Linked DNA regions of Homo sapiens: regions 2 and 3 are each linked to region 1. The links are contacts of gene promoters, found by promoter capture Hi-C in human tissues and cell types (Jung and others, 2019). All regions are on one chromosome and are shown on one strand. The core of a region is centred on a gene start or on the middle of the fragment in contact, and the rest is flanking DNA. Distances in the headings are between cores, read along the strand shown.

The links. The method cuts DNA at HindIII sites, captures the fragments that hold promoters and counts their contacts. A contact is called where the count stands out against the background at its distance.
Region 2: a contact is called between a fragment that was not itself captured here and the fragment with the promoter of UNC119B in region 1, in 1 of the 25 tissues and cell types used here (dorsolateral prefrontal cortex).
Region 3: a contact is called between a fragment that was not itself captured here and the fragment with the promoter of UNC119B in region 1, in 2 of the 25 tissues and cell types used here (dorsolateral prefrontal cortex and thymus).

What each region holds. Positions count from the first base shown.
Region 1 is chr12:120,708,447-120,712,948 of GRCh38, forward strand. UNC119B (unc-119 lipid binding chaperone B) reads left to right here and starts at 2,012. Exons shown (of 5, transcript NM_001080533.3): 1 at 2,012-2,272. The coding sequence starts at 2,029. It overlaps LOC124903036 (a long non-coding RNA gene), which reads right to left and starts at 2,060. Exons shown (of 2, transcript XR_007063491.1): 1 at 1,991-2,060; 2 at 1,487-1,828. RefSeq lists silencers at 1,902-1,961, 2,052-2,321 and an enhancer at 1,929-2,771. The HindIII fragment of the contact is 6,851 bases long and covers 1-3,271 here.
Region 2 is chr12:120,472,190-120,476,691 of GRCh38, forward strand. It overlaps a transcript of DYNLL1 not described here. Among named protein-coding and RNA genes, the nearest start is that of SRSF9, 4.7 kb to the left of the region's middle. The HindIII fragment of the contact is 6,330 bases long and covers 1-4,502 here.
Region 3 is chr12:120,497,369-120,501,870 of GRCh38, forward strand. It overlaps DYNLL1 (dynein light chain LC8-type 1), which reads left to right. Exons shown (of 3, transcript NM_003746.3): 3 at 705-1,125. The coding sequence ends at 842. Among named protein-coding and RNA genes, the nearest start is that of DYNLL1, 3.5 kb to the left of the region's middle. The HindIII fragment of the contact is 3,028 bases long and covers 382-3,409 here.

The DNA of each region.
Region 1 (4,502 bases), core at 762-3,261:
CTAAACCACCCTCTTGGCCATTCACAATCAAGTAGCATATTAAAAGTTCTGGAAATTCTTCAGTAACCACTCTGTTGAGTGGTTTAAAAAGAGTTGTTTGTAAAAGGAAAGACTTTAATTCTTTGTACACATTTATTAAAATCTCCCTGAACAGTTAGTTAAATGCCACCATATACTAATCTCTCAAAGACAGTACAGCATTTGGGTAGGAATTTGGCCACACACTATGCCACCCAATTGGGCAGCTGGGGTGGGGTCAGGTTTGGACTTTGTCCAGGAACCAAGAGATGCCTGTCTTGGTGGCTTTGGTGAGAGGGACTCAGCAAGCAAGGCCTGGCAAGAACGTCAAGAGGCTCTGGGGGACGGTTGCAATTTTACTCTAGCCTGGCTGAGAGGTGATGTCAGACCTAGCAGACACACTGCATCAATCAGGCCCAGGCCTCCAACACAGAACAGTGCAGATCTAGAATCCCTAGAGAAGGAGCCCCTCAGGGTGGAAGACGGTAGACCACATCCCCCTGTTGACCCACTTCTGGCTAATTGGTGAGGTCATGGCTAACTTCCAAAGCTCAGTGCAGATATTGCCTCTGAAAACTTCCGAAGCCCTCAAGCTTTTACAGCCAGGTCAGAATAAACCACTCCTGTGTGTTCTCCTAGCACCTTTGCTGCATCTCTTAGTGCAGTCAGTGAATCTAGTTTGTCTTCCAGTTCATACTAACCTACCTTGTGAAAAGGAAGGGTCACATAATGAATTGTGTACTTTACAGTCTTCTCTAACAAAAGTGGGAGCTCTTCCATAGTGGGATACTGTTCAGGCTCTCATTCAATCATTACTGAGCACCTACCACGTGTCAGGCATTAGCTGAACTGCTGGGAATTCAGGGGTGAGGCAGACCCAATCCCTGCCCTCACTCTTACATCTCCTGTAGCCTAGCCCAATGTCTAGCCCAGGGCCTGGCACAGTAGGGCTTACGGATGGCAATCTCATTGGAAAGTTTGTCTTGAAACTGCCTTTGCAAAACAAACACTGCTTTAACTTACCTTCTATGCTAAATATATTAATAAACATTTTCTCAAGATGCATTGTCCACTAATAGCTTAGTGTTGAAGAACAGGCCTTGGGTCAGATGGACCTGGATTAAAATCCCTGTTCCCTCCTCTTACTGCTTGAGGGACTTTGGACATGTTACCTGACTTCTCTGAACTTGAGCTTCCTGATCTGTAAAATGGAGACAGTAATACCTCACAGGGTTGTTGTGAGGTGAGGAGCCTGCCCTATAGCAAGTGTCCTGCCATATAGCAAGTGCGCAGTAAACACTGGCCATTCTTCTTCTTGGTGTGATTACTGGGAATTAGTTGCCATTGTGCTGTTGGGACTGGTGACAGAACTCTTGGATTGAGAATGCCGAGATGGTGCACGGAAGATTCTGTGTGCTCTTTCAGACCAGGAGGAGGATGAGGAGGAGGAAAGTTTATATGACGTAAATTCATTTGACCGTAAGATATGTATTTAAACATCGTGGAGGATCTTGGGGGTCTGATGGGGAGTGGGGTTGCTGAAGCTCCAGCCACCCCTAGGCCCTCCACCTGGCAGGACCAAAGTTGGGGCAGTAGCCGAAGCACCGCCCCCCGGGCCCCGCAGGAGTGTGCAGTCACCCAGTTAGGCCTATCTTGGCCTGCCCATCACTCCTGGCCTGCGGTCTCCTAACCCTGTGGCAGCAGCAGCATTCCCTGAATGGATCGAAGGCTGCCATGGTGTCGTCCGCTGAATTGCTATAGGAGTCAGCCCAGGGCTGCTCATGTGCACCTCAGGTTGCTGATGGCAGCTCTAGTTATTTGGGGATGGAAGTTTGGGGAGAGTGGGCCTTGGTCCACCCTGTGCGAAAGGGAATTCCACAGCCCCCCGGGCGCCCGCCCCCGCCCCCGCCCCGCCCCCTCCCCGCCCCTTCCCCGCCGGGCCCCGGGCCCCGCCCCCGCTCTCCATAGTTACCGCGCTGTGGAGGCGGCGGCCATCTTGGCGGCGGAGCGATGAGCGGGTCTAACCCGAAGGCTGCGGCCGCGGCGTCGGCGGCTGGGCCCGGGGGGCTGGTGGCTGGCAAGGAGGAGAAGAAGAAGGCGGGCGGCGGCGTCCTGAACCGCCTGAAGGCGCGGCGGCAGGCGCCCCACCACGCGGCCGACGACGGCGTCGGGGCAGCGGTCACGGAGCAGGAGCTGCTGGCGCTGGACACCATCCGGCCCGAGCACGTCCTGCGCCTCAGCCGGGTCACCGAGAGTGAGTGCCGCGCGGGCCGCGCCCTCCCCTCGCGCCGTGCCCCGGCTCCCGGAGCCTTCAGCGGACCCGGCCACTTGACCAGCGCGGGGGTCCCCGCCAGACCCCCTCGGCCGGCCGGGCCGCGCTTCCCGCTGCCCCGCCGGCCGGGCTTTGCTCCCGCCACGCTCACGTAGCTCTGGTGGGGAAGGACTCTCCTGGGCTGGACCGCATTCCTGTGAGTCCGGCCACGCTAGGATGCCCTTCGGCCGGTCGGCTCCCCAGCTCTGCCGGACCTGTTTGGGTAGAGGGCCCCGTTCAGCTGAACTGGATCCTCCTGAGCCGGCCGGGGGCCGAGGTCCCCTAATAAATGGGCCCCTGGGCCCTCAGCCTGGAACCCCCGGCCATCAGTGAAGTTCCCGCTCAGCCAGGCTCCCCCAGCCCTCTGGCAGGCCAGAAGCCTTACCTGCTTCCTCCGCCCTGGCCCCATGGCAGCCCTCCCCCATTGCAGCCTGCCCGGCCTCCCTCCCTCTTTGGGTCGGGAGCGTTGCCCCTTAGTGTGCAGATGGGTTCTTCCTCAAAACACATAGCCGTGGCATTTCCTGCTCATTTAAAACTGTGCCACATTAAAACAAAAATAAAGTTTCAGTTTGTGTACAGACTCCGACATGTGAATCCTGCTTTTGACATTCTCGTGAATTAAGAATGATTTCAGAGTTTCAGAAATGCGTTTCCTGCACAAAAGGCAACCATCCTAAGCTTTTTCGTTGATAGGAGGATGGGTGGGAAGAAAAATGTTGCCCAGTCCCTGCCCTGGGTGATCTCCCTTTTTCTGTTCTCTGCCAAGCCAGTCCCTGACTTGACGTCTTTTCTCTTGCTGCTGTTTTCCCTGCAGGAGTGTGCACTCACCTAGTTAGGCCTATCTTGGCCTGCCCATCACTCCTGGCGTGCAGTCTCCTAACCCTGTGGCAGCAGCAACATTCCCTGGATGGATCGAAGGCTGCCATGGTGTCTGCTGAGCTGCTATAGCAGGCAGCCCAGGGCTGTTCAGGTGCACCTCAGGTTGCCGATTGCAGCTCTAGTAATTTGGGGATGGAAATTTGGGGGGAGTAGGCCTTGGTCCACCCTGTGCGAAAGGGAATTCCCATTTCCTAAAAGAGTTTTAATTTGATTCTAGATATTTGGATGCCCCCGTTTCCCAATACTGTTTGGGTTGAGACTGTCCTTACCAGACCTGAACGTATCTTTAGACATTCTTGTTAGTTTTATTGAAACAGTGTGAAAAAGCTTCTTTTCTTCTGAACCAGTTTTCATTTGGGGCTCTGAAAGTACAGATGCTCAGCACCTGGTCTTGGTAACCTCATGCCCTCTCCTGCCATCCAAGTGAGTTAGGGTATTCTGTGCCTGGCCCTAAGCAGGATTCTCAGTGGGCACTCAGATCCTATCTGGGGGCTTGGGATTGTTGCTCATTGTCCAAACCCACCTCTGCAGCTTCTTAGAGTCTGGCAACCTCTTTGTTACTCTTCTTAACGTCTCGTTCATTCTATCCAGCAGATTATTTGAGTACCCTCTAAGAGTCCAAAGCCAATGTTAGCCTTTTTAGCAGTTACAGAATAATCAGTAGTTGTCAAGTTTGTCGTCTTAATAAAGAGACAACTTGTAAAACACGAAAACAACTAACTCAGGCAATAAAAGATCAAGTATCAAAATGAGCTGTGGAGAAGATGCTATCCGGAATCATCCTAGAAAGAAATCAGTGAAATTTGCTGTGATTAGAATTATTTCAATTTGCGGCTCATGTTCTAGTCACTTGGGCCTAATGTCTTCACCGGCAGATTTATCCTCTTGCCTGGATATGTATGATATGTATTGTCTACTGTATGATTTTGTGTAGCCCACAAACTAAGATTAGGTTTGTACATTTTTAAATGGTTGAAAAAAACTTTAAAATCTTGAGACACGTGGTTATGTAAAATTCATATTTCAGTGTCCATAAATACAGTTTTACTGGAATATAGCCACATTCATTCATTTGCGTATTGTCTGTGGATGCTTTTGTGGCTACAATGATAGAGTTGAGTAGTTGTGACAGAGACCATGTGGCGGCAAAGCCTAAATTATTTAGAATCTGGCTCTACAGAAAAGTTTGCTGATCTCGGCTTTCTTACACTGACAGTTGGCAAACTAACGTTGGCAAACTAGCACTGTATTATCTGCTAAGTCAGTTTAAATGTCTTAGATTGGAATTCTATAA
Region 2 (4,502 bases), core at 1,442-3,941, 240 kb before region 1:
GAAAAAGCTTTCCAAATGTTGTGGTTGTGGAGATATCTCTTGATGGCAGTGATTTCTATGTTTTTATTTATGCTTTTCTGTATTTCTCAAATTGTAATTAGCATGCACTACTTTTATAATTGGAATAAAACATAATAAATGATTCCTAAAATAAAACCATTATAACTATCTGTTGTATTCTGGATTATGTAAAGCATCTAGCTGTTCTCTAGACAAGCAGGAAAGAGCCCTGGCCAAATATGATCTCGAGTCTAAGTGTGCAGCCTTATAGGAGCTTACATATCCTATAGGCATCCGAAAGTCCAGATGCCTTCTCATTTTGGGTGGTGTGCTTAGGTGTATTAATACCATTCTCTGAGTCCTACCACTCCTATGTGATTGTTGCCTGGAAAGACAAAAAAGGAAAAAAAAGTGCTGTTGGAGACAATTGGGCAGTCTCCTAGGGAGAGAGAAATAGAGTCAGCTAAGTGACTCAATAGGACTGTAGGTGGAAAACTGCTTGCAAATAATAATAATTCAGCTTTAATTGTGCAATGTCCTGCAGCATACAATCTCCAAAGGAGTTCAGTTACCCAGCAGAAAATGTAGGGATGTGGTTAGTACAGGCTTCTTGGATTAGATAGAGCACAGCTAAATCCTTAGGAGGCATTTATGATCATCCATGAAACCCCCTTTATTCCTGTACTGACCTTTGCAGTTAGAACACAAATGAGACCACAATTATGACTTCATGTTCAAAGGGTTCATAGGTTCCATTCTCTGCTAAGGCCAGAGACTCTAGGCAGGGACACCTTTTAAACTTTTTGTTCATCTAGATATTCAACATTATTTATGATTTAGGTCCTGTATGAGGCCCAGGGCATGCAATAATACAGCTCTGTCCTTGAGTTGTGTATATAGGTTGCTATTCGGTCATGTAGAGTACAGTTGTGATAAGGATAAGCTGCTTGAGACTACATCGGAGGGTCACCTACCACAGTCTTAGAGATTCTAAGGAAGGCTTCTGGGAGGAGATGTTTAGAGTCTTGAAGAACCAGTAGGAGTTAACCAGGGGGAAGAGGGAAGGGCATTTCAGACAAAAATGAGGGCATGACTGCTGAGTGCAGTGGCAGTAATCCCAGCACTTTGGGAGGCTGAGGCAGGAGGATGGCTTGAGTCCAGGAGTTTGAGACCAGGCTAGGCAATGTAGTGAGACCCCTATCTCTACAAAAAACTTAAAAATTGCCAGGCCCAGTGGCTCATGCCTGTAATCCCAGCACTTTGGGGAGGTCAAGGTGGGTGGATCACTTGAAGTCAGGAGTTCGAGACCAGCCTGGTCAACATGGCAAAACCTCATCTTTACTAAAAACACAAAAATTAGTCGGAGGTGGTGGCGCACACCTGTAATCCCAGCTACTTTGGAGGCTGAGGCAGGAGAATTGCTTGAACCCGGGAGGCAGAGGTTGCAGTGAGCCGAGATTGCGCCACTGAACTCCAGCCTGGTCAACACCGAGACTCTGTCTCAAAAAAAAAAAAAAAAAAAAATTAAAAAATTATCTAGGCATGGTAACGTGCACCTGTGGTCTCAGCTACTTGATCTCGAACTCTTGAGCTCAAGTGATCCGCCCATCTCGGCCTCCCAAAGTGCTGGGATTACAGGCATTAGCCACGGCACCTGACAGTCCCAGCTACTTAAGAGGCTGAGGTGGGAGGACTGCTTGAGCCTGGGAGGTTGAAGCTGTAGTTAGCCATGATTGCACCACTGCACTCCAGCCTGGGCAACAGAGTGAGACTCTGTCTCAAAACATAAAAAAGGACACCATGAGAAATCACCCAAATAGGAGAGAGAGTAGCAGACCAGGGAAAATCCCTACTGGTGTGACTGGGGCAAGGAGTTCAAGCAGGGAAGAAGAGAGAAGGAGCTGAGGCACCACCAGCCTGGGCAACATGTTAAAACCCCGTCTCTACAAAAAATACAAAAATTAGCTGGGCATGGTGGCACACACCCATAGTCCCAGCTACTTGGGAGGCTGAGGGGGGAGAATCACTTAAGCCCAGGAGGCAGAGGTTGCAGTGAGCCAATATTGCACCGCTGCACTCCAGCCTGGGCGACAGAGTGAGATCCTGTTACAGAAATGGGCTTGTCCTTCTTTTCACCAAACTGAAAAGAAGCCTTTGATGTTGGCAGACTATTAAGAATTAATGCAGTTCCCACAGCAAGCCATTTATTCTCCACCAGAGTGTAGGGCAGTGCCCAACTGAAAAAAACAACATAAAAAAAAAAAAAAATCCCAAAACCAACAACAGCTCGGGTGATGAGTGCATGAAAATCTCAGAAATCACCACTAAATAACTTAAAGAACTTATCCATATAACCAAACACCACCTGTTCCCCAAAAACCTATTGAAATAAAAATTTAAAACAAACAAAAAACCAACAACGCCAGGCATAAAACATGCTGCAAACCTGCCCATCTGGTTTTCTCCTTTTCTCTGTGACATCAGTCCCCTCTGGCATCCCAGCAAAATATTTTCCTCTCTGTCAGGCTCAGTCATGAGCTCCTCCCAGACCTTGGCCCTAGGTATCAGTGGGCAGAGAGGAAGTGATGGGGGAGTAGACCATCTGAGAAGATGAGGAACTGGTCCCGCCTGGCAGGAGAGCTATGGAATGAGTCACTGGGAAACGTGTTCCTGGTCACAGCACCCTGGGAGCTTTCTCTGTCATTCTCTACCACTGTACTTGTGTGATGGAGTAAAATAAAACATATTCTGGAAAGCTACATAATAAAGAACTGAGCCATGCAGGGGAGGAAGAAGAGAAACAGCAGCAGAACTAGGAGGTTTGGAAGAGAGTTTGGAATTGGGGGTGAGCTTTAGGAAAGCAAGTGTCAAGTGTGGGAGGATGAGAAGAGAAAAATGGGAAAGATAATTCAAGATTTGCAGTATATTGTGAATATAATTCCCCTCTGGTGTTTTTTTCAGAGACTGCAAAAAATCTTTAACATTATTTTTCAATAACTTTTAGATAATGAACTGGTGTTTTCTTTGAATATGCCCAAACAGGTGGGAACACAAGGGCTTGATTTTATATGAAGTTACTTCAAGTGAACATACTGTATTTGTAGCAGCTCGGTTGCTTTATTTTTACTAACTTGTTAAATTCTGTGATGGAGTCTTCAAACAGCTTTTTATATCAGGGCTTCCTTTTCTTGGATTAATGGGCTTCTGGGATCAGTGAACTCCTGCCTCCCTGCCCCCTCAACCTCCACCTCCTGACCCTGATCCTGCAAAGTTGTAACAGTTGTATGCAAAATATTGTATGTGGGCAGAAAAGTGTTTTTATTCTGGGGAGAATCTCCATGTAGCACTGTCCCACAGAACTTTCTAGGATGATGAAAACATTCTATATTTGAGTTCTATGTGGTAGCCATTGGTTACATGTAGCTATTGAGCACTTAAAATGTGGCTACTGCAACTGAGAAACCAACTTCTTAAATTATATTTAACAATAATTAACTTTAATTGTAATAGCCAAATGTGGCTAGTGGCTACCATACAGGACAGCGTAGGAATTTATCATTCTCAAAGGTCTATAAGCTGTACTCCCCCATTCCCCCAAAAAAGGCCAAGAAACACTGAGACCAATCACTTCCCTTTACAGCCCTATGGTACTGGCACATAGTAAGTGCTTAGTAAACACCTGTTGATTTTATTAACTAGTATATAAAGAACAGTTATTCTAGCTCCAGAAAAGTGGAACTGAGGTACAAAATGGCAAATGAGCTCATCAGGTTCACCAAATTTCATTTCCTAAGCTCTAAATTCCTTACCCTCAACCCAGAACTTTTTCCAAAACATTTTCCACTGTAACAAACCTTGAAAACTTTCTTCACAGCAGAGTAAATCAGAAACACAAGCAAAGGGTAGGGGGGTGTGAAAAGATTAATAACAGTACTAAGAATGTTTTTCAATGCAACAAAAAAGGATGCATTTATTTAGTAGAATCCTAATTTTTTTAGACCCAAGTCAGTTTTATACTAAGCAGATTTTTAATGAACTGCGTCAATATAATTCAGTAATGGCACCTCCAAGGCAAATACATTCCTTAAAGGTAAAAAACAAGTATGGGAATTATCTGGAGTTTTTTTTTTTTAAGTTAAAAAAAAATAATAATAACTGAAAGCCAGGAAGCTTCTAGGCTACACATCCCCCATGCTAACACATGCCCAGTGGCTGAACTTCCTTCTGTCTGCCTGAGGCTGGCTCTCCCCCTCAGCCAGCACATGTGCAGGGCTTCTGTGAATGTCACATTGACAGACATTCCTTGCTAGGCAGCTGGGGACCAGTTTCTTTTGTAATTCCATCCTTCTCATGGGCTGCCAGTCTGTCTTGTTGTGACACACTCCTTGAAGGTGCTAGAAGGACAGCGGATGTTTGGGGGGTTTTTTTGTTTGTTTTTTGAGACAGAGTTTCGCTCTTGTCACCCAGGCTGGAGTGCAGTGGTGCGATCTCGGCTCACTGCA
Region 3 (4,502 bases), core at 646-3,145, 210 kb before region 1:
GTTGTTCCTACAACTTGCTAACCTAGTGGACAGGGTAGTAGATTAGCATCATCCGGATAGATGTGAAGAGGACGGCTGTTTGGATAATAATTAAGGATAAAATTTGGCCAGTTGACAGATTCTGTTTCCAGCAGTTTTTACAGCAACAGTGGAGTGCTTCAGTATTGTGTTCCTGTAAATTTAATTTTGATCCGCAATCATTTGGTATACAATGCTGTTTGAAGTTTTGTCCTATTGGAAAAGTCTTGTGTTGCAGGGGTGCAGTTAAGATCTTTGTGATGAGGAATGGGATGGGCTAATTTTTTGCCGTTTTCTTGGAATTGGGGGCATGGCAAATACAGTAGGGTAGTTTAGTTCTCTACACAGAACATGATAAACTACACCTGTTGATGTCACCGTCTGTCAATGAATATTATAGAAGGTATGAAGGTGTAATTACCATAATAACAAAACACCCTGTCTTTAGGGCTGACCTTTCGTCCTTTGACCTCCTCAGCCTCCATTCCCATCTTCGCTCAGACTGCAAGTATGTTTGTATTAATGTACTATGTAGGCGGCTTGGAGCTGGGGAACATTCTTTCATTCTAAGAATTTGCAGATGCTGACGTTCCTCCTTTCTGCCCCTACAGGCTCTGGCTTATCCAAGAGGCAAACACTGACCTCTGGTAATTAAAATCCTAGTTCTTTTCTTTTGTCTTTTCCAGGAATTTGACAAGAAGTACAATCCCACCTGGCATTGCATCGTGGGGAGGAACTTCGGTAGTTATGTGACACATGAAACCAAACACTTCATCTACTTCTACCTGGGCCAAGTGGCCATTCTTCTGTTCAAATCTGGTTAAAAGCATGGACTGTGCCACACACCCAGTGATCCATCCAAAAACAAGGACTGCAGCCTAAATTCCAAATACCAGAGACTGAAATTTTCAGCCTTGCTAAGGGAACATCTCGATGTTTGAACCTTTGTTGTGTTTTGTACAGGGCATTCTCTGTACTAGTTTGTCGTGGTTATAAAACAATTAGCAGAATAGCCTACATTTGTATTTATTTTCTATTCCATACTTCTGCCCACGTTGTTTTCTCTCAAAATCCATTCCTTTAAAAAATAAATCTGATGCAGATGTGTATGTGTGTGAATTACAATTTGTTCAAATAACAGCGTTGAAGACGGTCACTTGATCAGATGCCCAGGTTGGTGGGGATGAGTCCATCCTTACAGAAGTTAAGTTTCTGTGGGGTATTTCAGTACTCTTTAGTCACATTCTCTCACCCATCCTGCAACTGTTGTGCATGTTGAGAAATGCAGTGCATGATAAAGAAACATTTAAATTAAATCTTTAGTCCTAATCTGAAAAAAATCAATGTTTAAGGATATTTGTTAAGACATTGCTATAGAATGTTCTGGGCCTTTGGCCTCAGGTTGTGGTGATGGATGTGTATGTAGTAGTACTTGAAGCTTTCTATGGCTATAAAATGGAAATAAGCTCAAAACAAAGTTGGGATAATGAAATGGATTCCAGGACCCTTGTCTAGCCCCCTCCCCTGCCTAGAAAGAAGGTGGCCTTAGGGGAAAGTAAATGTTTCTGAGCAGCAGTTTTCATGCTCTTCTAATAATGTAAATTCCTGCAAAGACTTTATCAGCCTGCTGTGCTGTGCTTTGCTGTGGTCAGGAACAAGTGTGAATTGATACCTTTTCCTGAAAAGACCCAATTAAAGCTGGGGACAAGTAGCTATCAGAGGTTTCCTGCTATCAATTTTAAGAGGACTGCAGTCGTAGAAAAGCAAATATGGCAGACTTGTAGGTGGAAAGGAAATAAGACAGGCTGGAACAACCCACACCCATCTTGGGAAACTGCAAGAAGGGTCCTGACTTGTAGTTAGCCTATGTTTTCCCATGGATCTCTAAGATGCCATTGGGATTTCTAAGCAGCTAGGTGACTGCTACACAGAAGAGGGCGATAGATTGGAATTGATGGGTGATAACTCCCATTGTAAGAGTAGAATTAGGTCAGTAACATATTTGGAAGTTTATTTTTCTTCAGAATGTGTGGTTTTAAGAATCCTAGCAAAGTTGTGCTACTTTAGGATTGGAAGGGTTTCAGGGTAGAGGTGCAAGATTTTGACTTTTTTAAGACAGAGTTTCGCTCTTGTTGCCCAAGCTGGAGTGCAATGGCGTGATCTCAGCTCACTGCAACCTCTGCCTCCTGGGTTCAAGCAAGTCTCCTGCCTCAGCTTCCCAAGTAGCTGGGATTACAGGCATGTGCCACCATGCCCGGCTAATTTTGTATTCTTAGTAGAGATGGGGTTTCACCATATTGGTCAGGCTAGTCTCGAACTCCTGACCTCAGGTAATCTGCCCACTTCTGCCTCCCAAAGTGCTGGGATTACAGGCGTGAGCCACCAAACCTGGCAATTTTGACTATTGTGCCAGTTTTTTCCCTGCTGTCTGCAAAAAAGGATGAGGTACTGTGGAATAAACAGGAGACTGCAACTGGGGTAATTTTATGTTTGTATTTATATAAACAGACCGAAAATGTTCCTTTTTTCTAACTTTCATTTTTTTTGAGACTCCTATTGCCCAGGCTGGAGTGCAGTGGTGTGATCATAGCCCACTGCAACTTCAACCTCCTGGGCCCAAGTGATCCTGCCACCTCAGCCTCCAAAGTAACTGGGACCATAAGTACATGCCACCATGCCTAGCTAACTTTTGAATTTTTTGTAGAGCTGGAGTCTCCCTGTGTTGCCCAGGCTGGTCTTGAATTCCTGGGCTCAAGCAATCCTCCCAAGGTGTTGGGATTACAGGTACGAGCCACCACACCCGGTTTAATTCATATTTTTTCTTTTTTTTTTTTTTTTGAGACGGAGTCTCACTGTCGCCCAGGCTGGAGTACAGTGGCGCGATCTCGGCTCACTGAAAGCTCCGCCTCCCAGGTTCACACCATTCTCCTTCCTCAGCCTCCCGAGTAGCTGGGACTACAGGCACCCACCACCACGCAAGGCTAATTTTTTTTGTACTTTTAGTAGAGACGGTTTCACCATGTTAGCCAGGATGGTCTCGATCTCCTGACCTCGTGATCTGCCCACCTCGGCCTCCCAAAGTGCTGGGATTACAGGTGTGAGCCACCGAACCTGGCCTAACTCATATTTTTTCTATCCCTTTTCCCTCTTTAGTGACCTGGCTATATTTCTATTTGAAGCCCACAGGGAATTTGGCCTCCAAAGCTTTAGTTTGTCCAGTTAAGCCCTACTCAGAACGGATGATCTGTCTCTAGCTACAGACCCAAAAGCTGATTCAAGACTGATAGCTAGACACTGGGAGTTTTAGTTGAATATGATCTGTCCCATATTTACTGTCAAGTTGGCAGCTTTTTTGTTTTTTTATTCAGATGTGAGAAAACCATGTTGCTATGGAGATAAGACTGGGTTGATGGTTTATGAAGCTCCTTCCAGTGCCTGTTCCTTCCTGTTAATTTCAAAAGCCAATAGGCTCCAGCTGGCTGAAAAGAAAATGTAAGCTAAGTTTTTCTAAGCATTTATCAAATGCTCTTAGCTGCTGTTCTTTGAGAGAGTTGTATATAGCTAGCTCTATCTAGAAGCTTTTTAGTGACAGGGCAAGATCTTGTAAGTGAAGGCACGTAAATGATCCTTACTGTGCTGGGTCAGGAAGCAGCGTATCTGAAGCCCTTTCACATACCTTTGAACTATGTTATCCACAAACTGTTAGCCAAGTCACAGACTGATTTCTGCAATTCATTTTTGAGACAGGGTCTCACTCTGTCACCAAAGCTAGAGTGCAGTGGTGTGATCTCGACTCACTGCAACCTCCGCCTCCCGGGCTCAGATGATCCTCCCACCTCAGCCTTCCAAATATCTGGGACCACAGGTGTGTACCACCACATCTGGCTAATTTTTTATTTTTTGTAGAGATGGGATTTTGCCATGTTGCCCAGGCTGGTCTCGAACTCCTGGATTCAAGCAATCTGCCCTCTTTGGCCTCCCAAAGTGCTCGGATTACAGGCATAGGCCACTGTGCCGGACCAATTTCTGCAGTTTCTTAGCAAGGCCTCTTTAAAACCTTATGATTCATCCACACTCAAAATATTTATGGCTGGGTGCAGTGCCTCATGTCCCAGCACTTTGGGAGGCCAAGGTGGGAGCCCACGAGTACGAGAGCAGCCTGGGCAACACAGGGAGACCCTGTCTCTAGTAAGAAAAAAAAAATTATGGCAGCCAGGTATGGTGGCTCACACCTGTAATCCCAACACATTGGGAGGCTTGAGGTGGGCAGATCACCTGATGTCAGGATATCGAGACCAGCCTGGCCAACATGGTGAAACCTTGTTTCTACTACAAATACAAAAATTAGCTGGGCATGGTGGTAGGTACCTGTAATCCCAGCTACTTGGAAGGCTGAGGCAGGAGAATTGCTTGAACCTGGGAGGCGGAGGTTGCAGTGAGCCAAGACCACACCACTGCACTCCAGCCTAGGTGACAGAGGGAGA